7 separate regions of the Homo sapiens genome follow, and all the other regions are linked to region 2. Evidence: promoter capture Hi-C in 16 types of primary human blood cells and fetal thymus (Javierre and others, 2016). All regions are on one chromosome and are shown on one strand. The core of a region is centred on a gene start or on the middle of the fragment in contact, and the rest is flanking DNA. Distances in the headings are between cores, read along the strand shown.

Evidence for each region. Contacts are between HindIII fragments. The CHiCAGO score rates a contact against its expected background, and 5 or more counts as called.
Region 1: a fragment that was not itself captured here is called in contact with the fragment with the promoter of SPATA46 in region 2 in 5 of 17 cell types (M2 macrophages, M1 macrophages, M0 macrophages and 2 more); the score reaches 7.3 in M2 macrophages.
Region 3: a fragment that was not itself captured here is called in contact with the fragment with the promoter of SPATA46 in region 2 in 7 of 17 cell types (M1 macrophages, M2 macrophages, M0 macrophages and 4 more); the score reaches 9.9 in M1 macrophages.
Region 4: a contact is called between a fragment that was not itself captured here and the fragment with the promoter of SPATA46 in region 2, in 4 of 17 cell types (M0 macrophages, M1 macrophages, erythroblasts and 1 more). The highest score is 8.0, in M0 macrophages.
Region 5: a contact is called between a fragment that was not itself captured here and the fragment with the promoter of SPATA46 in region 2, in 7 of 17 cell types (M1 macrophages, M0 macrophages, megakaryocytes and 4 more). The highest score is 26.5, in M1 macrophages.
Region 6: a contact is called between a fragment that was not itself captured here and the fragment with the promoter of SPATA46 in region 2, in 5 of 17 cell types (M2 macrophages, erythroblasts, M1 macrophages and 2 more). The highest score is 7.3, in M2 macrophages.
Region 7: a contact is called between a fragment that was not itself captured here and the fragment with the promoter of SPATA46 in region 2, in 1 of 17 cell types (M0 macrophages). The highest score is 5.6, in M0 macrophages.

What each region holds. Positions count from the first base shown.
Region 1 is chr1:162,088,865-162,092,326 of GRCh38, reverse strand. All of the region lies in intron 1 of NOS1AP (nitric oxide synthase 1 adaptor protein), which reads right to left. Among named protein-coding and RNA genes, the nearest start is that of NOS1AP, 21 kb to the right of the region's middle. RefSeq lists enhancers at 1-338, 339-934. The HindIII fragment of the contact is 159 bases long and covers 2,043-2,201 here.
Region 2 is chr1:162,374,744-162,378,155 of GRCh38, reverse strand. SPATA46 (spermatogenesis associated 46) reads left to right here and starts at 1,302. Exons shown (of 3, transcript NM_182581.4): 1 at 1,302-1,468; 2 at 2,753-2,866. The coding sequence starts at 1,366. The HindIII fragment of the contact is 3,530 bases long and covers 1-1,518 here.
Region 3 is chr1:162,117,098-162,120,567 of GRCh38, reverse strand. The region is part of intron 1 of NOS1AP (nitric oxide synthase 1 adaptor protein); the gene reads right to left. The region is part of intron 3 of LOC105371475 (a long non-coding RNA gene); the gene reads left to right. Among named protein-coding and RNA genes, the nearest start is that of MIR4654, 38 kb to the left of the region's middle. The HindIII fragment of the contact is 3,323 bases long and covers 203-3,470 here.
Region 4 is chr1:162,029,609-162,032,985 of GRCh38, reverse strand. No RefSeq gene overlaps it. Among named protein-coding and RNA genes, the nearest start is that of OLFML2B, 7.4 kb to the right of the region's middle. The HindIII fragment of the contact is 3,654 bases long and covers 1-3,167 here.
Region 5 is chr1:162,046,701-162,049,870 of GRCh38, reverse strand. No RefSeq gene overlaps it. Among named protein-coding and RNA genes, the nearest start is that of NOS1AP, 21 kb to the left of the region's middle. The HindIII fragment of the contact is 475 bases long and covers 1,127-1,601 here.
Region 6 is chr1:161,961,478-161,964,897 of GRCh38, reverse strand. It overlaps ATF6 (activating transcription factor 6), which reads right to left. Exons shown (of 16, transcript NM_007348.4): 16 at 828-3,420. Among named protein-coding and RNA genes, the nearest start is that of OLFML2B, 61 kb to the left of the region's middle. The HindIII fragment of the contact is 727 bases long and covers 1,680-2,406 here.
Region 7 is chr1:162,010,414-162,013,920 of GRCh38, reverse strand. All of the region lies in intron 3 of OLFML2B (olfactomedin like 2B), which reads left to right. Among named protein-coding and RNA genes, the nearest start is that of OLFML2B, 12 kb to the left of the region's middle. The HindIII fragment of the contact is 268 bases long and covers 1,240-1,507 here.

The DNA of each region.
Region 1 (3,462 bases), core at 873-3,372, 290 kb after region 2:
CCCTCAATTATTCCACACAAACACCAAATTCTGCATGCCTGTATCTTAAGAAAATCCACTAGCTGAAACACTGAACTTCCTAAAACAAAAGAATGAATGAATACCCTTCAATTTACTCTATAAAAGTCCTCTTCGTTTTACAATAGTCTGTTTACTCATTACTCAACAGGGAAGCTGGGGTTTGAGAGACTGGAATGTGGCCTGGGAGAGTTCAGGACAAGCTGCAATGCCAATCCCATCCTTTGTTGGATCCACAGCCTTGAACTAGTCACTTTCATCTCTTTGTACTTCAGTCCCCCTCATCTGCAAAATAACAGAGCTGATTTAGGACCTAATCTCAGAGGTGATCTCTGAGGTCCCTTCCAACTCCAGCACTCCGTGATTCTATATTTGATTCTTCCTGTATATTCTGCAGACCACCCCACCTTGCCCCAGTGAAGTCACATCCCAATTACTTAATGCCCACGTAGTGGTTGACAGATCAATTAGAGCAAACAGCCAGAACACAGCAAGACTGCACAGCACTCCACATGCTCCTGGGCTGTGTAAAGTGCCCTCTCTCTTTGAGGAGTGGGAGGAGGAAACTTGTGATCTCTGTCTTCCCTTAGCTGTTCATCAACATGTTGCTCAAATGTAATTACACATAAGCAGGATTTATTCATTCCTTATCCTATGTTCTCAAATCTTTATATGTTTTGCTGCTCCATGGGGGAAAAATAACTTAAAATCTCAGTCAGCAACTTGCCACACTGTAGTGAAAATTAAAAGCAATATCCCAATTCTGGGAAAATGGTGGCAATATATTTATTGAGTCTTCCACAGTCTCTACAAAAAATAAACAGAGCAACTAAATAGCAAATTTAAAAACTCATGGATGACACTCAACAAAATTTGGTGACAAGTTATCGGAGACAAATCACCAATAGCCAGTATGATATTGATGTCTATGTGGGAACAATCAAAGGGAAGCAATGGGGCATATGATGAACCTGAACCCAAAAGAGCCAATAGGGTAAACTGGAGAACTGCCGCTGAACCTGGAACAACAGGGGACCCACAGGAGGTTCGAAGGGCTGGAGCACTCAAGCCACTAGGAACTCTCAAAACTGATTGCCCAGGACAGGACTCCACACCAAGAGAAACTGCTGGGAACAGAATCAAAATGAAGCAGGACAGGCAACAGAGACAAAGAAAAGAGAAGGCTCAGGTAAAAGAGAGAGATGGAAACAGAACTACCACATTTTTTAAATCTCCATGAAAACAAGAGATTTTTAAATCTCCATTTCTCTGTGCAGTTAGAAATACTACCAAACCAACCCTCCTTTTTAAAATTCAGGAAAACTAAGTTTACATAAAAATTAACAACAGAAAAGTAACAAGGTCAAATCCATAAACATTTCTATAAAAAAAGAGAGAATAAGGAACAAAATAACATCCTTAGAAATATGTGATAGTGAAAGCATGCCAAAAAGACATATTTTTAAATAAGCTAAAAATACTTTAAATTATGCAAGGCATGAAAGAACAACATAAATTAGAATTAGAAAAATTCAGAAATAAAGTGACAAAACTCAAGAAAGCAAAGTAAAAAAAGAAAACTATTTTAGAGATAAAAACTAAACTAGAAGAAATATAAGAAAAAATAAACCTAAAAACTGCCTGAAACTTAGGGAAATTTTTTAATTAAAAAGAAATAATAGGAAAGAGATCAAAGGGATTTGAAAGTGACAAACATCGAAGATAGGCAAACAAGAACCAACATATGGATAAGAGTGGTTCCGGAAGAACAAAACCAAAGCAAGGAATATAATTCTAAAAACAGTAGTCTGTGAAAACTTTCCTGGAAAAAAACTATTTGAAACCTGATATTGAAAGAACATATTGTTTACCTGAGAATACTGACTCAGAATAATATCAACATATACTCTAGTAAAATTCTCAGACTTTTTTTTTTTTTACAAAAGATAATTTAGGCAGCATCTAATTTTAACTGTATACAAATTATAAGGAAAAGAAAAATTAGATCAGATTTACAACAAGCTTTATGCCAGAAGTAGATGGAATAACACTTAAGATTTTTTAAAAAATGTCAACCACAGATTTAATATTCAGCAGTTTTGACCTTTCGCATACAAAGAGCATAGATAAAATGTTATCAACATTCAGAAAAAAAAAATCAGGGAATATTGTTTCCATAAGCTTTTCCTAAGGATACTAGAGAAGAACTTTGGATAATCAAAGTGACTAGAAACAAGAATGTAAGTTTTGGTAGTAAGTATTAAATATGTAATTATTGAAGAACTAAAAACTAAATGAGGGTTAAAAAGGAAATATTATAATGTGTAATGACTATATGATTGTATTAGTTAACTAGGGCTGCTATAACAAACTATGACAAAGCTACAGGCTTAAGACAACAGAAATTTATTTTTTATAACTCTGGTGAACAGAAGTCCGAAGTCAGTTTCACTGGGCCTAAATCAAGGTGTTGGCAGGCTGCACGGCCTCCAGAGGCTCTAGAGGAGAAACTATTCCTTGCCTCTTCCAGCTGCTGGAGGCTGCCAGCCTTCCTTGGCTGTGGCCACATCACTCCAATATCTGCCTCTGTGGTTACACTGTCTTTTCCTCTTCTGTGTGTAATCTCCCCCTCCCTCCCTCTTGTAAGGACAACTGTGACTATATTTAAAGCCCACCCAGATAATCCAGGATAATCTCACCATCTCAAGATCCTAAACTTAATCACATATACAAAGTCTTTGTCATGTAAAGTAACGTTCACAGATTCCAGAGATTAAGACATGAATACTTTTTGAGGGACCATTACTCAGAGTATCACAATAATACAGTATAACCATTTTAAAAGATGGTGAAGGATACAGATGACATATTTTTTAAAAGGTTTTGGACTGTTTTCAGTAATCATAATTGGTGCTGGTGTTTGTACTACTATTCTGAGATTCCTAATTGTGTAGTGTAGGATAAAGCAAGTGAGTAATTATGGAATATTGGATTCTGTTATTCCCTATGTATTTGAAAACCAGAATTCTCAGTGTGGACAAAAGATCAGATGAAATACAGAAGTAGTTAAGATATTGGAAATATCAGTATGAACACACAAGTATGTTTACATCTATCACATTCATCCTTGCTCTTTCCTTATGTGTAGTTTCCCAGCTCTGTTCACCAAAAAAGACCTACAGACAATGGCCAACTCAATAAAAATTAGCATCCCTGGTGCCAAGATAATGGTCTTGAAATACAATTTTGCATTAAAAGATACCAGGTCTTCCTGGAGAAATGATTGATTCCAGGTCTGAGACACAAAATACACAAGGAGTGGAAGAGAGATGAAGGGGAAGGAGAATGGCGAGAGGGAGAGAAAATCCCTGATACCAAAAGAGGTATCGGTCTCCAGATTGTATGTATTCATAAATTCATAATTCATAAAGACGTTACCACAGG
Region 2 (3,412 bases), core at 53-2,552:
ATTTCCAGAGCGGCCATAGCTCCCCATGCAGCATAAACATACCTGCCATCTAGATCTGCAGCCCTGCTCTGTATCTAGTTGACATGTTGTGATAATCTAGAAAGGGGTGTCTTCAGCTTATCTTCCAAGTGTCACAATCATCTTTCACCTTATTCCACACCTCGTTAGTGCACAAGGTTGTTATAGGACAAGCGAAACGAAGAGGCAACCTTGCCTCTCTGGAGTCCCAGAGTCTCCCCATCAAACTGACTTAAGCAATGAGCAAAATAGTATTGAGTAAGCCACCCATTTGTGCTTTAGTCACTTGCTAAAAAGAGCACCAACCACTGAAAACAATATTTGGCCCCTATTCTTAGGAAATACACATTGAAGTACTTAGGTATAAAAGGACATAGTGTTTATAACTTACCTTCAAATAGTTCACAGAAAAAATTAAGTATATACACATACACATGGGGCAGGGGGCAGGAGGAAGGGGACGGATACAGCAAATGGGGTAAAATGTTAATAGGAAAATCTGGATACAGGGCATAAGGGTGTTCTTTGTATTGATTTTATTTTTTGCAGCTTTTAAGATGGAGTCTCGCTCTGTCACCCAGGCTGCAGTGCAGTGGCGCTATCTCAGCTCACTGCAGCCTCTGTCTCCCAGGTTCAAGCGACTCTCCTGCTTCAGCCTCCCAAGTAGCTGGGATTACAGGCACCCACCACCACGCATGGCTAAATTTTATATTTTGAATAGAGATGGGGTTTCACCATGTTTGTCTAGCTGGTCTTGAACTCCTGACCTCAAATGATCCACCCGCCTTGGCCTCCCAAAGTGCTGGGATTATAGGCCTGAGCCACTGCACCCAGCCTAATTTCTGCAACTTTTACAAATTTGAATTTCCAAAGAAAATGTGAAAAATATATACACCTCAAAAAACAAACTAAAACAAAACAATAAAAATATTTGCTGACAGAGATTAGGCTGATAAAGGAGAAGAAAAGGAAGGAGATTATTCAGACAGGACAGAGGTTTCCAGGGCTGGAGGGCTGGGGGTAGACAGTGTCAACACAGAAAACTGATGATAACAAAGATAAAAGGGGACAAATAGACAGCATCACTACAGTATCTCTACTACATTCTTCTCTCTGGGTATTGTCAATCAGGGCCTGCCACTGGGCAATGGCAAGTCAAATACAATCTTTACACATTTTAATCTTGCTTTCAGTAGACTCCATTCATCTTCCAAAGGGTAACCTAGTTGGTAGTGGAATCATGTGCCTTGTGACATCAACTGTGCTCAGAATGTTTATCCTCTGGACAAACCAGCCAGCCTCTCCAGAGCAGGCGTGTGATCTCTGTACCCCCGCAGTGGTCAGAATATGGAGAACTTCTCACTCCTCAGCATCTCTGGACCTCCAATCTCTTCCTCCGCCCTGAGTGCTTTTCCCGACATTATGTTCTCTCGTGCCACCAGCCTGCCAGGTAAACTTTGGTGCCACTAGGGCCACAAAGATGTGGTTTTTTTTGAAGCTTTTAATTGAGTACCCTACCAGATCATGTTACAGGACCATGATTTAGTGAGAAAGTCAAATTACGCATGGGGAGAAAATAATTTTTCAAAATGCTGCATTTGTGGTAAGTAGTTACTGCTGTGTATTGATTTTTGGTAAGGGAAGAAAGGGGAAAACTTTTTTTTTTTTTTTGAGACAGAGTTTCACTCCTGTCGCTCAGGCTGGAGTGCAATGATGTGATCTCGGCTCACTGCAACCTCTGCCTCCTGGGTTCAAGTGATTCTCCTGCCTCAGTCTCCATTTATCATCAAGTTTTTCCCCCTAGATTGTGCATGAAATCTCAAGGTGGCAGTATGTCTACATAGAGTAGAAACTAGTTTTAGCTCTGTTTTGACAAGTTTGGAGAGGATTTGGAGTTAGCCAAATCAGAGAAGCCTAAGCAGCAGCGTAAACTGATGAGCACATCATGGAATAAAGTTGGACACCCTGAGGACTCCCTGTTCAAAATACGGTCCTTAGACTTGCAACGTCTGCATCGTCTGGGAGCTTGTTAGAAATGCAGAATCTCAGGTTCCCACCCCAGATCCACTGAATCAGCATCTGTGTTATTAACAAGATCCCTAGGGGATCTCTATGCACAGTAAAATGGAGAAGTACTGCTCAGTGGAGTAGGCCTCCTAAGCATCCATTTGTCTACATATATGACATTTATAAATTTGTCCCCCAAACTGAACACAGCTGCTATTCTGGGATTTGAGGCAGGTCAGCTTTTTGTCCAAGTGTTAGCACTCCAGGGTGTGCCGTGCAGTGATGGCCCACGGGAACCCTGACTGTGGGTATGAGATGTTTCAACTGGACAATCCTCAAAGCGGGCATGGAACATTGCTCTGCAGCCTGTGACTCTGGGTCCCAGGATGCTCAGGAGACTGGCAATGCGGAGTGAAGCCATCCGCGTGATGAGATGCAGGAGGGTTAGGTGAGGGGCAGGCCAGGCGGAGAGGTGTCATCTGGGCTACATCATAAATCCCACTTTCCAGAGGATCTTTCTGAGGCCTGAATGAAATGGCCCCATTCAGAATTCCCCAGGATGTCATCCAGAATAGCTCTGCCTGGCTGAGTTTGAGAGGTCACTGTTCTGTTTCAGCGTTGAGATGCCTTGAAGTACAGAGGTTGAGCCCCTAGGTATGCCTGGGGGAGTCCCAGAAAGTGGAATCCCAACCTTGCTCAGCTCACCAGTGTTTCTTCTATAACCCAGACATTGCAAAGACAGCAGTACCCACTGAGGCATCCAGCCCAGCTCAGGCCCTGCCACCCCAGTACCAAAGCATCATTGTCAGGCAAGGGATACAGAACACAGCGCTCTCACCAGGTGAGGACTTCTCTGACTCTGGGCGGGAATGTGTGAGAGGCTAAGGATGAAAAGGGGCTGCTTCCCTAAGGAAGCAGAGGTGTCTGGAAGCTGGACCCCCATGCGCGGTCTTGTCACCTGCAGCCTCCTATCTGGCCCTTCTTCCTTTGGTAGACACCCACAGGCCTGGGGCTCTCGCCTTGCCTCCCCTCTCCTGTCTCTGAAACTGGTGTGCAAGAGCAGTTTCTGGCTGAGTGGGCCGTGGAGGGATCAAGATGAGCAGTGAGGCTGAAAAAAGGGTCACAGCCATGGGTGGCGAAAAGAGGGACTGTGGGAGGCCGCCGGTTTGGCTATCCGCTGGGTCACCTGTCTGTGTCTATCCTTAGAGGAGTCAGTGGACATGGTGTCTCCAGGAGGGGAAGGCCTCGACAAATACCAAGGCTTACCAACTAAAAGCAGCCTCTCCTGCCCCAAGATCCAACGGCCCTTTGTACCCCTAGAAAAAGAATGCAGTGAGAAGGAATGCCCTCGGCTGCTCTTACCACTGTCTTGCGTCTGCTCTCAGAA
Region 3 (3,470 bases), core at 615-3,114, 260 kb after region 2:
TGACTTTCGTCTTCTGCCATGATTGTGAGGCCTTCCCAGCCACATGGAACTGTGAGTCCATTAAACCTCTGTTTCTTTATAAATTACCCAGTCTCAGGCATGTCTTTATCAGCAGAGTGAAAATGGACTAATACAAATTCTCTCCTCATTTCCTTCACCAGGTTCCCAATTCTTTCCTTGTTTCCCTGTTTGTAAACAAGCTTAATAACTGCATAAATTTTTATCATTTGGCCACTTACATAAAAATTCCTCAATTGTGAGCACTTAAGCTGTCTTTCCATTTTTCATTATTATAAATAAAATTGATGAATGTAAAGATATAATGCAAAAAATATTTTACCATATTTAGGCTATTTCTTTAGAATAGATTCACAGCTTAAAGAATTATTCAGCTAAAGGGTATATTTTGATATATACATATATATACACATACATGTGTATATATCATATACATATACATGTGTATATATCATATACATATGTATATACCATATACATATGCATATACATATATATAAAATCAAGTTGCTTTCCTAAGAGGTTGTACCAATTTACACTCCCACCAGCAGCACCAAAGACATCCTATTATTCACAGGATAGGTTCGTACTTGTCACTTTGGCCATATACCAACTGTTACCATCTCTGCTGCCTCCCCCATGCCATCCGTTTCCTTTACAACAAGCCAAGGATCCCTAATATGTTTCACTCTTCAAGTCTTCAGAGGACGATTCTACGCAATTCCAAGTGCCTCTGTAAATCCCCTCATCTGAAAAGAATACCTTTTGCTACCCTTCAATACCTCACAAAGACAAGAGAGAGATTCCCTCGCCCTGGCTGTTAAGTACTCTGGGATCCAAGAGAAAGCTAGAGCCGCATAAAGAATTAGGGAGACTACGATAAATTTTTAGTAAGGGAAGAATAAAGAGCCATGCAAGTAGGTTCCTAATACTTCTCTTAAACTGACTGAACCCTCTTTCTGTTGGCAATTTTTAAATAAAAAAAGAATAGCAGCAGTACGAGTCCTTTGCTTATATTTTACCATTTGTTGTTGTTTTGTTTTGTTTTTTGGCTTTTATAGAATGCGGAGTAAACCCAAAAGAGATTTCTGCTTTATCTAAACAGAAACTAAAAGCAAGGACACCATATACAGTTCTTAGGGAAAAGCAGACACACGAGCTCAATGCTTGCAGAATATGTCTGTGTAGTAAATCCTTCTAGGTTAATCAGGTTCCATATTGCCAGTGTCAGACACTGAGCTGCCAGACCCCATTTCCAAACTGGAGGAAAGTAAAGACTCTCTAGAATGCCTGGAGAGACTTTCTCCAGAGCTCTTGCTGCTATTCCTCATGGGCTACTGGAAGAGTTCCCATCCATGGACCCCAAGCAGCCTCTCTTCCGGTTATTATGACAGGAAACTATTTCAGTTTCTAGATCATTCTTAAAAAGAAAAACATTCTATGAGGGCCTCAAAAGTAGTAGCTCTACCTCCCAAAATGCAGCAGATGATGGCAAAATTACCATCCAGCTCTCACATGATTTGCCTTATCATCAAGACAAGTGGCTCTTATCATAGGGACCTAGAAATCCCCATGAACTTTCTCATAGGTCTATGGGCTCCCTGAAATAATATGCTAAATTCCACTCCCTGTTGATGAGTTTTCTGAGGAGAGAGGCCAAGGCTCCGAGATGAGGTTTTCATGGAGTCCAAAAGTGAAAAGAACTCACAGAGTCCAAAAGAGATGTCTGACACACCCCTACCTCTACCTCAATCTCTTGCACAGCCCTGGGTGCATACTGGGTATTCAGTAAACATGGAGCAAATTGAGAAACATCAATTGACTAATATATATATTCAAAACATAATGGTTATGCATAAAGGATTTACAAATACTGATTATTTATACATGAAAAACAGCAGCTGGAGTGTTTTTGGTTTGGGGTTTTTTAATGAAAAGTTGACTGTAATATCAGCAAGACAAAGCACTTGATTCTATCACAAAGACACAAATGCCTGCCTGTATGTTCACTGCAGTGCTATTCACATTAGCAAACACGTGGAATCAACTTAGGTGCCCATCACCAGTGGACAGGAAAAAGAAAATGTGGTACTATGAAGCCACAAAAAAGAATGAAATCATGTCGTTTGCAGCAACGTGGATGTAGCTGGAGGCCATTGTCCTAAGCAAACTAAAGCAAGAATGGAAAAACCAAATACTACATGTTCTCGCTTATAAGTGGGAGCTAAACACTGAATACACATGAACGTGCATATGGGAACGACAGACACTGGGGACCACTAGATGCGGGAGGGTGGAAGGGAGACGTGGGCTGAAGAACCATCTGTTGGGTACTGTGTTTACCGCTTGGGTGACGGAATTCATTGGGACCCCAAGCCTCAATGTCATGCAATATACCCATGGAACAAACCTGTATGTGTTTGTTAATCTATAAAAAAGTTGAAATTAGTTTTTAAAAAGCAATTGTTATTAATAAAACATTTCATAATCTTTTTATCTGTATCTTCTCATAACAACGTTGTGAAGGAGAACAATGAGATACGCCTGGTGCCTAGAAGATATGATAAATGTTCACTGACTGATGTGTGGTAAGAAAGTGGAAGCAAAAGACAGATATGTGGACCTGTCCATCATCTGATGACCAGAAGCCATGAAGGACCGTTAGGCTCCCAGGGGACAGTGGAAGCCCCATGTGTCCCAACACATATGTGTGCATACAACACACACACAACCTGGGCTAGGCACCTTTTCCTGTACCGTGCCTTCCTGAAAGAGCTGGAAGGGTACAGCCCCAACTCGTTCCAGTTGGGATCTTAGCAGAAAGGAGAACTAAAAGGCACTTTAGCTACAGCCTGACAAGGTGCTTTCAGAGCACCAGCCCCCCTTTTTATTTCAGGGAGCACAATGATACATTTGTTCACCAATGTGCTCAGTGGCATGTCTGAAAGACAAGGAGGAGTGAGGTCAGCAGTCCCAGCTGAGGGGTAGCAGGAAGTCCTGGGAGTCCTGAGTTATGTCTGCCAGGGCTCATAATGTGTCTCTTGACTTCCCTATGTCTCCCTCCCTTCCTTTTAAACAAAGAGGATGATAGCTAGGGTACCTGAATTCATGCATCCCTGTCTAGAGAAAGAAACACTAATGGCAAATTGTCTGGCAAGAATTCACCAGTTTAAAAAAAGACTTACCAAGCAGTCAGACTAAAGTGTCAGACACAGGCCGCAATCCATTAAGCAGCAGCAAGTAAATCCACAGATGAATCTAGCTGCTACCACCTGACATTAATCTGATAAAGACAGGACCAATGTATGGAAACCTGCAATATCTGGAGAGACAGCCTATGCAAACAGAACAAAATGCATAAAATGAGCTCCTGTCCCCAGGAAACTGAAGCCAGCATTTTCTGATTATTAGATTACGTCCTAGTAAATTGATTAATGCTGTCCACAGGGGCA
Region 4 (3,377 bases), core at 91-2,590, 350 kb after region 2:
AAGACTTCACCTTCATATTAGCGTCCAAGTTTCCCCTCGATGCTAAATCTAAGATTTACCCTTTGTTAAGCCTTCTGTGATCTTTACATTCTTTGTTATTTTCAGCCTTCCAATTGAGGGTTGGGGTTTCATTTCTAAAGGGATAAAGAAAGGAACATGTGGTTAGCAGTAAGCACCAGTAAGCAGAGGTGAATATTTTTATGATCCCCACCTTAGTATTAAGAAACTGAGGCTCACAGAGATGAAGTGACTTGCCCAAGGTCAACAGCAGTTATGGTGGAGCCAGAATTCCACAGCCAGTCTGTCTAACCCTACATCCCAGACTCTGTCATGGCTCTAGGCTGCCTGACAAGGCTAAAATTGTTACATTCATGTACCCCAAAGAATGGAGGGGTGCATGAATGTAATTTAATTTCATATTCAAATGTATGAATGTATGGATGAGCAAGTGTATTGACTAAATATTTTCAGTGATTAATCTACCAAGTGAAATATCTATAGCAAGCTGAGGTCTGCATGTATACACACCAGGTTAAATTTACCATTTAGTCTGTTGGCTGTAGGATGGTGAGACATCACATCTGGATTAGAACAAGCCAAGCAGGAGGAGGAAAAAAATATCACCTGGAGAGAGAGGCACACAGAGGAGTTGCTTCTGCCATTCCTGGATACTAAGTTGGGTTGTCTCTTACGGGGAGATACTTTTCTATAAGATGATTAATTTATGCTAAATAAGTACATCTTCAGAAGTAGAAGGAGGCAGAGAGCCAGCCAGCAATGGAATAGGAGAGAGTGGACATCCATTGATTTGTCTGGTCTAGCAGCTCCTCCCTAGAAACTGCCCCTCTTTCCACTTTGTTTCTACCAAGTGACCTGTCCCCCTGCCCCCCGCCTTAGTTGATTAGTTCAGGATTGGGCATCTGACCCATTTTAGAGCAAGGCCTTCCCTGGGCATTTGGAATTGGGCCTGAGAAGGAAAACTAACCACACTCAATATTCAAGTAACTCTGACCGGGCACCTTCAGTCTACTGTGTGGACCAGAGATGTCCTAGGTTCAAATGAGCCTCTGATGACCCCAGTGACATTAGAGCCCTTGGGTTTTGTGAGACACTCCTACATCCTTATAATAAAGTCTCCTTTACCCCCAACACCTTTTTTCCTTTAATCTATATAAAGTTGCTTGTAACTTACAAGCAGGAATCTAAACTAACATCCTTCCCCTCTCTCACCTCCATATCCAGAAAGTCACCAAGTCCCACTAATTCCACCTTTTTGGTATATCTCATACCCACCCCTTTCTCTTCACCTCCATGCTACTGCCTTTATCAAAGCCTCCCCATCCGTGCCTGGATTTCTACAACAGCCTCCAAATAGCTCTCCCTACTTCAGCCTGACTCTCCCATTCATTCTCTGTGCCACTGCCAGGGCCACCTACTAGAGTTCACTCCCTTGCTTACCAGAATTCTCATAGCCTTTGGCTTGAACTCCAAACTCCACAGCACATACACAAGCCTCGTGTGATCTGGCCCTCCACTCTAACTGCTCGCTGCATCCCCTCTCTCCCTCTGCTGTGACCCCTGTGTTCCACCTGAGCTTGCATTTCCCAGTAACTCATCACCGTTTTCTAGTCTCTAGACTTCTACTTGGCACACTCCTCTCCCAGCCTTTTCTCAACCAGCTTCTATTCATCCCTGCTGATCAGGAATAAATATGAGCCCTTAGACATCAATTCTAAGTCTAAGAGGTGGTAATGCATGGGCCAGGTCTTCCTTTTCTCTACTTCTGCCTCTCTGGGGTTGTCCCATAAACAAGGCCTTTTGACTTCTCAGTGTCTTCCACTGCTACTTTTCTAGCAAAACCAGCTCTCAGGAAGGGGCCTGTTATTTACTCTCTGGTATAGATTTAAGGCAATGAATCACCTCTTCCAGGAGTATCTGCATGTGGAGATTCATCACTGAAGGCAGAACTCATTAGCCCTAGTAAAGGGCTATCAGGCTTCTGTGAGAATGCAGGGGAGGTGTGTGAGTGCCCTGAAAAAGCACACCACACGGACACTACATCATGTGTAGGAGCTGCCCTGAGCACGGCGGTCTCTTAGAACCAGGAGAGAGGGAGAGAGAGAGAGATCATGGTGTGTAGAAAGCAATGGGCTGTATGCAATGTTCCTGACCTGTCCCAGGACAGTGTTCAGTGGTTGCCAGACATGCCTTGCATGATTCTCAGGGGCCCCATTCACAGGGACTATGATATGAATGGTATCCCCTAGAGTTGTGCCATGTAGCAGCCCTGGAAAATTCCTTGGAAAGGCAGAATCTCTGCCTACCTATCCCTCCTTTAGTCACCACCAATTATAGAGGGCAAGGGAGCTTCCCTTTGAGTCAGAGCAATGACCCACTCAGCACAGGACTCTGGCTCAGGCAGAGCCATTCCAGGAGGCCAAGTGGTCTGCAGGCAGGGAATTGCAGTCATTGCTCTGCCTTTCTCTCTTCTGTCCACTCTTCACCACCTGAGTCATTCATCTAATCTGCAAGTCTGACAATGGCACTCTCTTGCCCCCAATCTGTCAATGGCCCCTCAGTGCCTGTGAGACATACTCCTAGCTCTCTGGGATGGCACGTAAAGGCCTCCACAACCTGGCCTCTCACTCTTTCACTAACTTCATTTCCTCTCACTCTTCGTCTTGTATTTTACACTCCAGCCTCTGCCTACATCACAACCTTCATATCTTGAAATCCCAGTCCTTGTGGTCCCCTTGGCCTGGAATGCCCTTCTCTCCTCCTCCACACCTTCTTTCCCTGACCCCACTTCCCTACTTCTGTCCCTCAGGCACCATTGTCCTTTACCTGGCAAACTCCTGCTCCTCCTGGAAGGTCCCCCAGAGCACCCTGACACCACTCTCCTCCCATAGACAGTTGGATTGGGTGGCCATTACCTTGGCCATCCTGTCAGTGGGCCTCCACAGTGTCTGGCACTTGTCCATTTATGTGTCTCTCTCAGGAGACTGTGAGATCCTTGAAATATTATCTTGAATTAATTATTATTAATGTCTTATTCATTCATGTTTCTTTAGTGTCTAACTCAGGACCTGGCACATAGATATTATACTCAATACCTGAGTGGATTTCACTTCAATTAGCTTTAAACTTAAATTTTATTATGTAAAGCTTAGTTTAATAAAAAGAAATTACCATGCTTGGCGTATGAGGAAATGCAAATTGTTCTTAAAACTGGGGAAATTCAGAGAAGGAAAAACTTATTTTCTTTGCTAAAATATCTTGAGGAAAAACATACTCTTCTGTACCCTTTCCCAGGATCAAACATTTATAATCTTTATAACATGAGTTCCTGAAGGCAAAGGTTTTTTGTCATCTTCATC
Region 5 (3,170 bases), core at 115-2,614, 330 kb after region 2:
GGAAGGGAAGGGAGGGAAAGAGAGAGAGGAAGGAAGGAAGGAAAGAAAGAAAGAAAGAAAGAAAGAAAGAAAGAAAGAAAGAAAGAAAGAAAAAGAAAGAAAGGAAAGAAGGAAAACTACAGGCCTGGGAGACGTAAGAACTGAGTTTAAGTTTCAGCCTTGCCACTTGGCCAGCAGCTGTATAATATTAGACATGTGGCTTAAGTTTCCTCAGCCTCAATTTCCTCAGCTGTAAAATAATATGGTGACCATCATGGTCTCTTTCAGTCCTAACATTCTATGATTCCCTTCTCCAATCTTTATCTCCCTCTGGATATTTATTCATAACCTGAAAAAGAAAGATGAGCTGATTTTCACATTGCAAATTATCTCTCAATTTAGAATGAATGAATTAGAACATACATATGGACAAAGATAAAAAGAAACTAAACCTAAAATTAAAATCTCCTTATCTAAAACACTTAAAATATGAATAAATTAGCTACCAATAGAATCAGAAAGAAAAGACATTCTCTGATATAACGCTAAAGAAGATGATGATAATCACCAAACCAATGGTGCTGTTCTATGAGAACAAGCTGTATTTAAAGTGGAATTTGTGTGTTCTTCAATACAGATAAATAGAGCTATCAAATACACAGTTGTCACAGATTATCTCTGGAGACACAAATTCATGCTTTAAGGACTAAAACTTAGCATCCCTTTGATGCTTAATGGGATATGTCATCTTGATGATATATTACTTTCATCAGTAAGGTGATTTCCTCTTGTCTTTCTAAGTAATCTATGCAAAAACCTCTTGCAAACCTTTCTTAAAAGATTACTTGGGTATCATCTCAGTTTTAAAAACTTATTAATACAAATAAATAGGTTTTGTTCAGTGTTTTGCACCTTTAAAGTATAGCACATGGTATGAGCTCAATAATTGTTTCCAAAGTGAATGATTTAAATTGAATAAAGCACCAGACACTTGACAAATGGAATCACTGATACAGTTGAAACAGCACTGGCATCAGGGTCTTGATTGCCTCTTGCTAGCTGTATGATTGTGGGAAATTTATATAACATCTTTGAGCCTCGGTATTCTCATCTGTAAATGGAGACAATTCTACCCAAACACTAAGCTTAATGGGAGAATTAAAATAGATGATATAAAAAAGGAAATCTATGAAAAACTTCAGCTCATATTATTCTCATGATGAGTCTAAATACATTCCCCTCTAAGATGGGGAACAAGTCTTCTCTCAATTCTATGCAACACCATGCTGGATGTCTTAGCAATGCAATGAGACAAGATTGGAAAGAAAGAAATAAAACTGTCTTAATCCTCAGACAATGTGATCATCTACATAGAAAGTCCTGAAGAATCTATAAAAAATGAACCAATAAATGGATATAACAAGTCACAGGACACAAAGTAAATATACACACAGAATATACAGGAGGAAATGATGTTATTGGTAACCTCAGAAATCCAAAGAGCCAGATAATTTAGATAACACAAAGAAACTAAGACCACACAATCATGGCATGTATTCCTTATTTCATTTTCGTGAGAATTGTGTGCATTTGGTTTTGTACATGATATATTTTCATAAGCTTGCCTTGAGAGGAAAAACAAGTTTTTCAGATGAGCAAATATATCTATGGAATAAGCTAGCTTGCAAAGTCAATTTTAATCATGCATATAATTTTACAGAGTGATGAGTTCTTTCTGGAAGCCATGAAGTTCTTGCAACTTGAATAGATAAGAGAGGACTTTTGCAAAGGCCACTAAACTCACCTATAAAACAAATGTCATCTGTGGTCACCACCTATCTTGAGGGGAAAAAGTCAAAAATATATTGGGCTGCTCTTAATGTGATTGACAATTTTAGCAGATTTGTTAAATATTCATATGATTCTCTGGTGGGAAAGACATCCTGTATTTACATCAGTGAGTAATTTTTCCTATTGCTGCAATAGATTATATATGAGAAACAGTCTTACCGATCTTGCAAGTAACTGAGAGCTTATGGAAGAAAGATGAATATTTTACTGAAAAGGATGCAAGCATTCATTATATGAGAAGCCATGTAACTGATGTATATCATCTCTAACATCAATAATTTATATAATGGAAGGTTCAGTTACTGGAATTTGAAAACATCCATACACTTGCCTGAGTGTACCTTGTGTTTTATGTGTCCTAGGATGGATTTTTGTGGCACTGTCTATGTTAGCCCTGTCCTATGCAAAAATCTGAGGAAGCAGTTTTGATGTATAATTAATTATATTTTCTAACAACATTTAACTAGAAAACTGTTAAAAATGTTTGCCCACTTATCACCTAAGATTATCGGATATATCACCAGTAGTATGCATATCACCTTGGGAAACACTCATGGGAAAAGCACTGTAACTGCAGCCAAAATACCTAAATTCAAATTATGGTTCTGCTGTTTAGTAGTTATGCCACCTCGAAACATTAGTTCACATTTCTGAGCTTCTGTTTCATTTTTAAAAGGAAGAGCAATAAAAAGGATATTTGGGGATCATCTGGAACACCAACATATAATCAAATATTGCCACATATTTCAAGGTTTGTGTCTGCATTTGCATCTTCATATAAGCCCAGTGGAGTTCAATGAAGTCACAGGGAATAGAGTCTTCTTAGTAGTTCAGACAGAGAAAAATGGGGGCAGAACTGAATCATGCCAAGGCATTCAATAGCACACGCAGCTGAATTCAAAATAATCTGCACTTAAGGCATCAACACTATATTCAGGAGTTTCAATTCCTTAAAAAAATATGAATAATGCATTTATGCCAAGAGAAGACTCAATGATGTTGCAGCATAAATTATCATTGCAGAAGAAAAGTTTTGTCCTTAAACTATTAAAAGAATTTAACATGACCACAATAACAGTCATGGGTCAATTGCCACTTTGACATTAGGATATATCAAACTTTATTATCAATACATTAAAAATCAAGCACTGTCACTTAGGGATCACTGGGTGACAACATAATCATAAATGCACATGTAAATGAGCACTTTTAAATCTCACTGAAGTATTCTATATGTTCTAGAATACCTTACATCTGACTTTTAGAATATTTTCAAAATGAAAATATAAGATTAAAAAATTCTGATTGGAAGATTTAAATATCAAATTTTTTCCTTATTA
Region 6 (3,420 bases), core at 794-3,293, 410 kb after region 2:
GCCACTATTTTTTAATTTTTATTTTTGAGACAGGGTCTCACTCTGTCACCCAGGCAGGAGTGCAGTGATGTGATCTTGGCTCATTGCAACCTCCGCCTCCTGGGTTCAAGTGATCCTCCCACTTCAGCTCCCCATGTAGCTTGTAGCTGGGATTACAGGCACCTGCCACCATGCCTGGCTAATTTTTGTATTTTTTGTAGAGACAGGGTTTCACCATTTTGCTTAGGCTGGTCTCAAACTCCTGAGCTCAGGTGATCCACCTGCCTTGGCCTCCCAGAGTGCTAGGATTACAGGCGTGAGCCACTGCACCCAGCCAGCTCCACTACTTATTAATAACCATCTTACAAAATAGGATGTAGAGACGATTGAAATAAGATAATATAGTTAATAAACCAGTGTCAGAGGTAATCATTGGGTGCTCAGTAAATGCCTGCATTAATTACTCCTGGATGGATCCCTTGCTGTCAGTCTGCAGTGACTAGCTTCAGGTGTGGTGGCATTTGCCATTGCAAGCTGGGAAGAGGCCTTTGGTGAGGACAAGATGCGTGACCGAGTAACCCACTTTCCTGAAGACATAGATAAAATATGGGTTTTTAGATTTTTTTTTCCTTGATAAGATTGTAGTTTAAATATCTGGACACTTAAATAAAGGAAATTTTTACTTAATTAGGCTTGGGAGAAGAGTGGAAAATAGTTCAACAGTTTCATCTGAACAGTAACACAAGCCACAAAGCCTTTTCAGGCTTCCTTTCCCATTACTAACCCCCCAACACTGAAGATTCATTTGGGGGCTTTTTTCTCTCTTTCTACATACAGAATAAACAAGGTAAGTTTAAAAATTCTTTATTTGAATTTTAGAGAAATAACAGGTAGTATAAAGACTTGCTTGAAAGTATGAAATAGTCTGTTGTTATTATTTCTTTAGGTTTTGCAAACCAACATCATTATTAAGGGAGAGAATGGTACATCTCTCCTCCTCATCTTTAACACGTTCTTCAATTGGCATGGGTACAACCTGAGCAAAAAGATCCTGGTGAAATGGCATCTCTAACACTCCCCCCTCAGTTCTAATGGCTCCATGGATGAAGCCCTACTGGACTTAGACCATCCATACTTGCCAAAGTGGTAACAGGAAACCAGTGCCTCTAAGGCTAGTAGTGCATAGTAGTTTTCATCTAAAGCTCTGTTTCCCCATCATCTCCTCTGTCCTGGTGACTGGCCTGGAAATTATGGCAAGGATGAGTTAAAATGGATCAATATACAATTGCTGTGAAAGTCAACCTACTAATCTCTAGCTGGGATTAACATAAAGGGGATATGCCAAGCCTCCTGGTTTATTCAACTTCATTGAGAGCAAACAGCACAATAGTGTTGTTTGTTGGCCTTGGCAAATGATAAATTATGATTTATTTACTCCTTAGTTACCAAACCTAATATAATTAAAAGTATTTTAGTGTGCTAAATCCCTAATGCTTAAAGTTAGCAAACCAATATGTTGAGAATGGCACCCACTATGTGACAGTGGCTGGCCATGACATGGATTCATGCGTAAGATCAAATTTTCTAATCAGATACCTTTGTCATTCTTCTTTTCATAAATTCTATTGCATCTAATAACACACATATTAGAACAAATGGCCGAAAGTTCTAGTCTTACCCAAAATAAACTGTTTAAAGCTTAGTCATTAAAAAGATAAGAACAGAACACACTTTACTTTCTTTTTTTTAGGTAGGAGAAAACTGCATTTCTTTTACGAGCATAGTTCCTTTTGGATTCTGGCAACATCTTTTTGGGTAGTCTAGTATTGTTTCCTAGGAAATTAAAAATCAATCCCAATCCCTGTGGGTGGAAGAAAATGGGAATATTCACTTCCAAATGTTATTAGGGGTGGGAACGAACATTTCTTATATTTCATTCTCTTTTAGGCTTTATTCTTGTTTCTAAAAGTTATAATTGGTATTCATATTAGCAGCAACAATCCTAATTTCTGTAAGTTAAAATGACTCAGGACTGATGAAAATAACATTTGTGGTAAGGAATATGGAGTCCACAGGTGGTAATAAGTGTCTATCAATTTTGGCAATTCACAATCTTATTTAAGAGGTTAATTGGTATGAAATAGCCAATAGTATGAAAAGATCTCAGTCGGCTGAAGGAAGCTGAGTCAGCCCATCAGTATGCAGTGGAAAGAGGGCTTTCATGGCTGGAAAATTTCCCATGACTTCAGAGTGAAAGGGGGCATCAGATCAGGCTCTAACTCTTCAGGCTGTGAAAGCAAAAGTGGTTACTTCTAATATGTTGTTGAAAGTGAAAGTCACTTTGAAACTTTGCAATGTGTTAGAAAGTCAAATACAATTATAAGTTTTTCCTGTAATACATTTCTGTCAAGTTTCACAACCTAAGCTTGGTAAAATGGCAAGAATCAAAAAATAGTAGGAAAGTGGCAAAGAGCTTGAGAGTTTTCCAGTTTTAACGATGCTAAATGCCACCACGGCAGTCTCACCAGCATCTCGCTGCGGTGACTACCGGGGAATACACACAGGGGAGGAAGGTTCAGGCTAAGATTTAGTCAGGATGATGTCTCTTTAAAAATGATTTGAAAAATCAATTTGAATCCCAAGTTCCTTTTCTGTTTCTAAACTTACTTGGAACACTTAAGAATGACTCACATAACATTGCTTTCAAATACCTCCGTGTCAACTTCTTACTGGCAAGAAATGGCAAAGAAATGCCAGTTTTGTGCTGGAACTTGTAGTCATTAAAAAAAAAAATTAGATGATGCTCTGAGTTTTATAATCGTGAGGGATTTTTTACTTGTGAAAACACAAATCCCACCCAAAACTCCATGTGAAGTTTCTGTACTACAAGCATGGCAAACAGCAGATTTGTTTCAAGGATGATCCTTTCACATTAACTCCTAACTTTGGAGTTAGTTTACACTAACACTCTAATGAAGCTGTGTCCCTGTACTGCTGGGCATAAGTCAACCCCAAAGGGACAAGCTCCTAACATCTGATTCAGTAGTTAACATGAGGAAACATCCACTTACTTCCATTAACCCTTAAAAATTTGGGACTTGCAACCAGGCAGAAAGACTATTCCCATCAGTCTCTACCATCACTTCCCAAGAGTGTATTATTGTCAGCCCCAAGAGCACAAAATCATCTAATAACAGGAGGACCTGCCTCCTCCATGAGTTTATCTAATTGTCTCATAAGCTTGCACAATCCTGTTTAAAATTTAATAAATAAAAAAATACACACATTACCCACAATTTCTGGCTGCAACCCCCAAAAGGCAATCCCACCAAAAAAAAAAAAAAAAATTAATCTGGCATGGCAACTTCTCATTTCCTAAAGGGCCTTGTGCATACAAACATTAAAATAAAAACTACAATTGTGCCTAGGGATTAATTATAG
Region 7 (3,507 bases), core at 124-2,623, 360 kb after region 2:
TGTGTGTGTGTGTGTGTGTGTGTGTGTGTTGGGCTTTTTTCACTCAACTTTATATTTTTAATATTTACCTATGTTGTTTTTGTGTCTTGTGGTTCATTCATTTTTATTGCTGTGTAGTATTCTATTGTATGAATATACTACAATTTATCTGTTCTCCTGATGATGGGTATGTGGATTGTTTCCAGTTTCTGAATGCGTAAATCAGAATAGCCCTATGGACATTCCTATACATGAACATCCCTGTGCATGTACCCTGGTGCATGTGTGCCTGCATTTCTCTATGGTACATTAGATAAGTGGAACTAGAAGATAAGCATTAGTTATGCTTATCTTCAACTTCAGGAGATATTGCCAAACTGTTTTCCAAAGTGGTAGTATAAGTTTACATTGCCTCCAGCAGGGTATAAAAGTTCTGCACACATCCTCACCAACACTTGGTATTGTCAGACTTTCTAGTTTTTGTCAATTTGGAGGCTATAACTTAGTAGGGTCATTTCACTGTGTTCTAGAAACTTAACTCCAAAAATATCTTTCCAGTTCACTGGGGGAGGTCTGAAACCTCATAAACCAGTTTTAAAACTGCTCCAGGAATAAGAAACACTCAAGGTGGTCAGCAGTCCAACATAGACCCCAGCTGACCTCTCCTTCCTGTGAGTGGCTGGGAAGGGGAAGGGCATGCAGGAAGTGTAGGTACATGTTGGAGTTGAGGGGTGGGTGGGCACAGAACATAAGTATCTGAAGAGATAGGAGTTAAAAGTCTAGAAAGAAAACCTGTAACTTCCAAAGGCAAAGGCAAGCCCTGTTCATTGCATACAGAGCTGGCAGTGGCACTCACTCAGCTCAAGAAAAGACTTCATCCGGGCTCTGAGTGCACTCAGAGACCCATAGACTTGTAGGCTGCCAGGCCTAAAGGTGGATTCTGAAGGCAGCAGGACTAGAGGCATGGTGTTCAACCCCTAGCAGCACATACTGCTTCCAGGGGCAGATTTATTACTAAAGTGGAGAAAAAGACAAACAGAGGGACAGATCATTATAATAATCTTCTAGCATCAAGGCTTTAGTTGGTTTCAGTCATTTCTGTAAAATTTGCAAATTTTATGAAGAAATGTCCCACCCCCACCTTGCTGCAGGATACCTGTAAGTGTTTATAAGTGCTTGAAATGCTTATGTACACATGTGCCTTTGTATATGTGTGGGTGCATAGCCCATGCTCTTAAAATAGATGCATGCCTGCAAGCTTTCCATAGCGTGGTTTCTGCTTTGTCCCTTCTGGTGTGTGTATCTCTTTCCTTTTTCACGAATCTACCTGCTGGAATTTGCAAACCACACCCATGAGCATAGATGGCACGAGGGAACCTTGTGTCCCAGCTGAAGACTTTTCTCCTGATAATGTTGCCTCCGAGGAAGATTTAAGTCCACGATGGATTTACCAGACCCAGAACTGGTCCGCTCCCCAGAATGTACTGGCACAGGCATTGCTGAGGGCTTCTCCCCCACACCTAAAGCTTTGGTGGCTTTTGTGTTTCTGGACTGAAAGGCATGATCAAAGAAGCATTCCTGACCCTGGGGGATATATCGTTTCACCAGCTAATAGGAAAACGTAATTTTCATCTGTGCAGACTTGGCTGTGAGTTGGGGGAGCTGTCTCTTTCCAAGCCCTACCTTTCCTTCCACCCTCCACCCCTGTCGAGACACCCCCAGGGCTCACTCTCCTGATCAAATCTGCTCTTTCCGAGGGGTTTGCTGTAAGTCATTTCACTCTTCTTCCTCAAGTGAAGGCTTGGAGAGGGGCACTGCTTACCCGGCCTGACTTCAGTGTCCTTATACGTGAAAAGGCAGAGGGTCGAAGTTAGTGTTTCTAAAATATATTTCAGCCTAACACTATTTAATTCAATTTACATCTTAATATGAGTTAAAGCCAATATATTACCTCTCCCAGGGTTGTATATACTTCAAATCTAATTTGCAATTGTGGGATATAAAGTTTTCTTCTTGGCTGAAGAGACTTACAGTGCGAGTGTCAGCCCTCCATCCGTCGGCCTAGGAACAGTTTAGAGCTGCCAGGATGTGCAAGTGTGCATGGCTCGAGTGGCTCTATTTTAAGGGGTAAGATTACCCTAATATAGAAATTCATCACCAGAGGCCTGGGTCTTCTTGCTGTTGCCTTGTTTGACTTTCCTGCCAGGCCCTGGACTTCTTAAGGGCAAGCTGGGTCAAGTCATCTTTGTTTCCCAGGCCCTGGTCCAGCACCTGATGTGGGACAGATGCTCCACAGCTGTTTGGTTGGATGAATGTTCAATGGGGCAGCTGGTGGCTCCCTGAACCCAGGCCTGCCTGTCTCTCCCATCAGCTGTGGTCGGAGGGATTAGGCCATGGCCTGCCTGTCCTGCCATCAGGAGCACCGGCTGTTTCCAGCTGTTCTCTTCCCCAGCTCTCTTACCAGGGGCTAGGAGACAGCTGTCAGCTGGGGTTGCTGTCCCAGGCCATCTGGTCGTAGCTGTCTCCTGGAGGGTGCAAAGGTTGAGCACGGTGAGCTGATGGGAACTACGAGCCCTCCCCCCTTGGGTCCAGTTACCCTCACACTTGCTCAGGTCACTCCCATGAGAAACTATGTCCCATCTGCCCTTGGGCTTGCCATCTGTATCTTAGCCCTGTGCGCATCCAGCTATCTGCCAGGGAATCCTGATGCCCACAGGACCTACCAGGCAGCCTCCCAGGCAGCCTCCTTAGATATGGCTGTGTGCACCTGCTGTGTGACTTGGGGCCAGGGTTTGCCTCACCTGCAGTCTGGCTTTGTCTACTCCCACAGGTGTCTAGTGTGTCTCTCTACAGCACACCAGCCTTGGGTTCTTACCTTCCTCCCCATGCCAGCCATACCAAACCCTGGCTTCCCTTTCCTTTTCCACCTGCATGTCTGCTATGGAGACCCCAAGGGTCCCTCCCACTCCAGCTTCACCCACATGCCTCAAGCCTGATTTCCTTGCCCAGCACTGTACCACATGCAGCCCCTTATCCATCTCTGTGCCAAGCTTGGGTGAGGTAGGTGTCATCATTCCTTCTTTTCCTGCCTGGGGCCTAGAGAGGTTTCATCCCTTGCCCTATGTGGTTATATAAGTAGGCCATGACTGTGGTGTGGGTTTACACCTGATCTCCAGAGCCAGCACCCTCCCCCGACCACACCCCTGTCCCTGGTTCTATTTGTAAAAACGAGACCACAGAGAACTGCCAGAATTCTGCCCCATGGTCATCTTTCCCCTGGTCCCAAGGTTTTGGCTTAAGATACTACACGGTCTCACCCGGGCACACGCACACGTGTCTAAGAGCTGGACAAGGTCAGGATACGGTCTGTGTCCTTCATACCCATTCCATCGGTCTACACATCTGGTTGTGCTGGCCCTACATGGCTTGTCAAAACACCAGCCATGCTGACTAGGGCTGACTGATGGCTGTACCCCTAACTCCACCTGCATCCGGTTCCCCTTTGCCAAGGGTCCCTGCCTTGTTTGC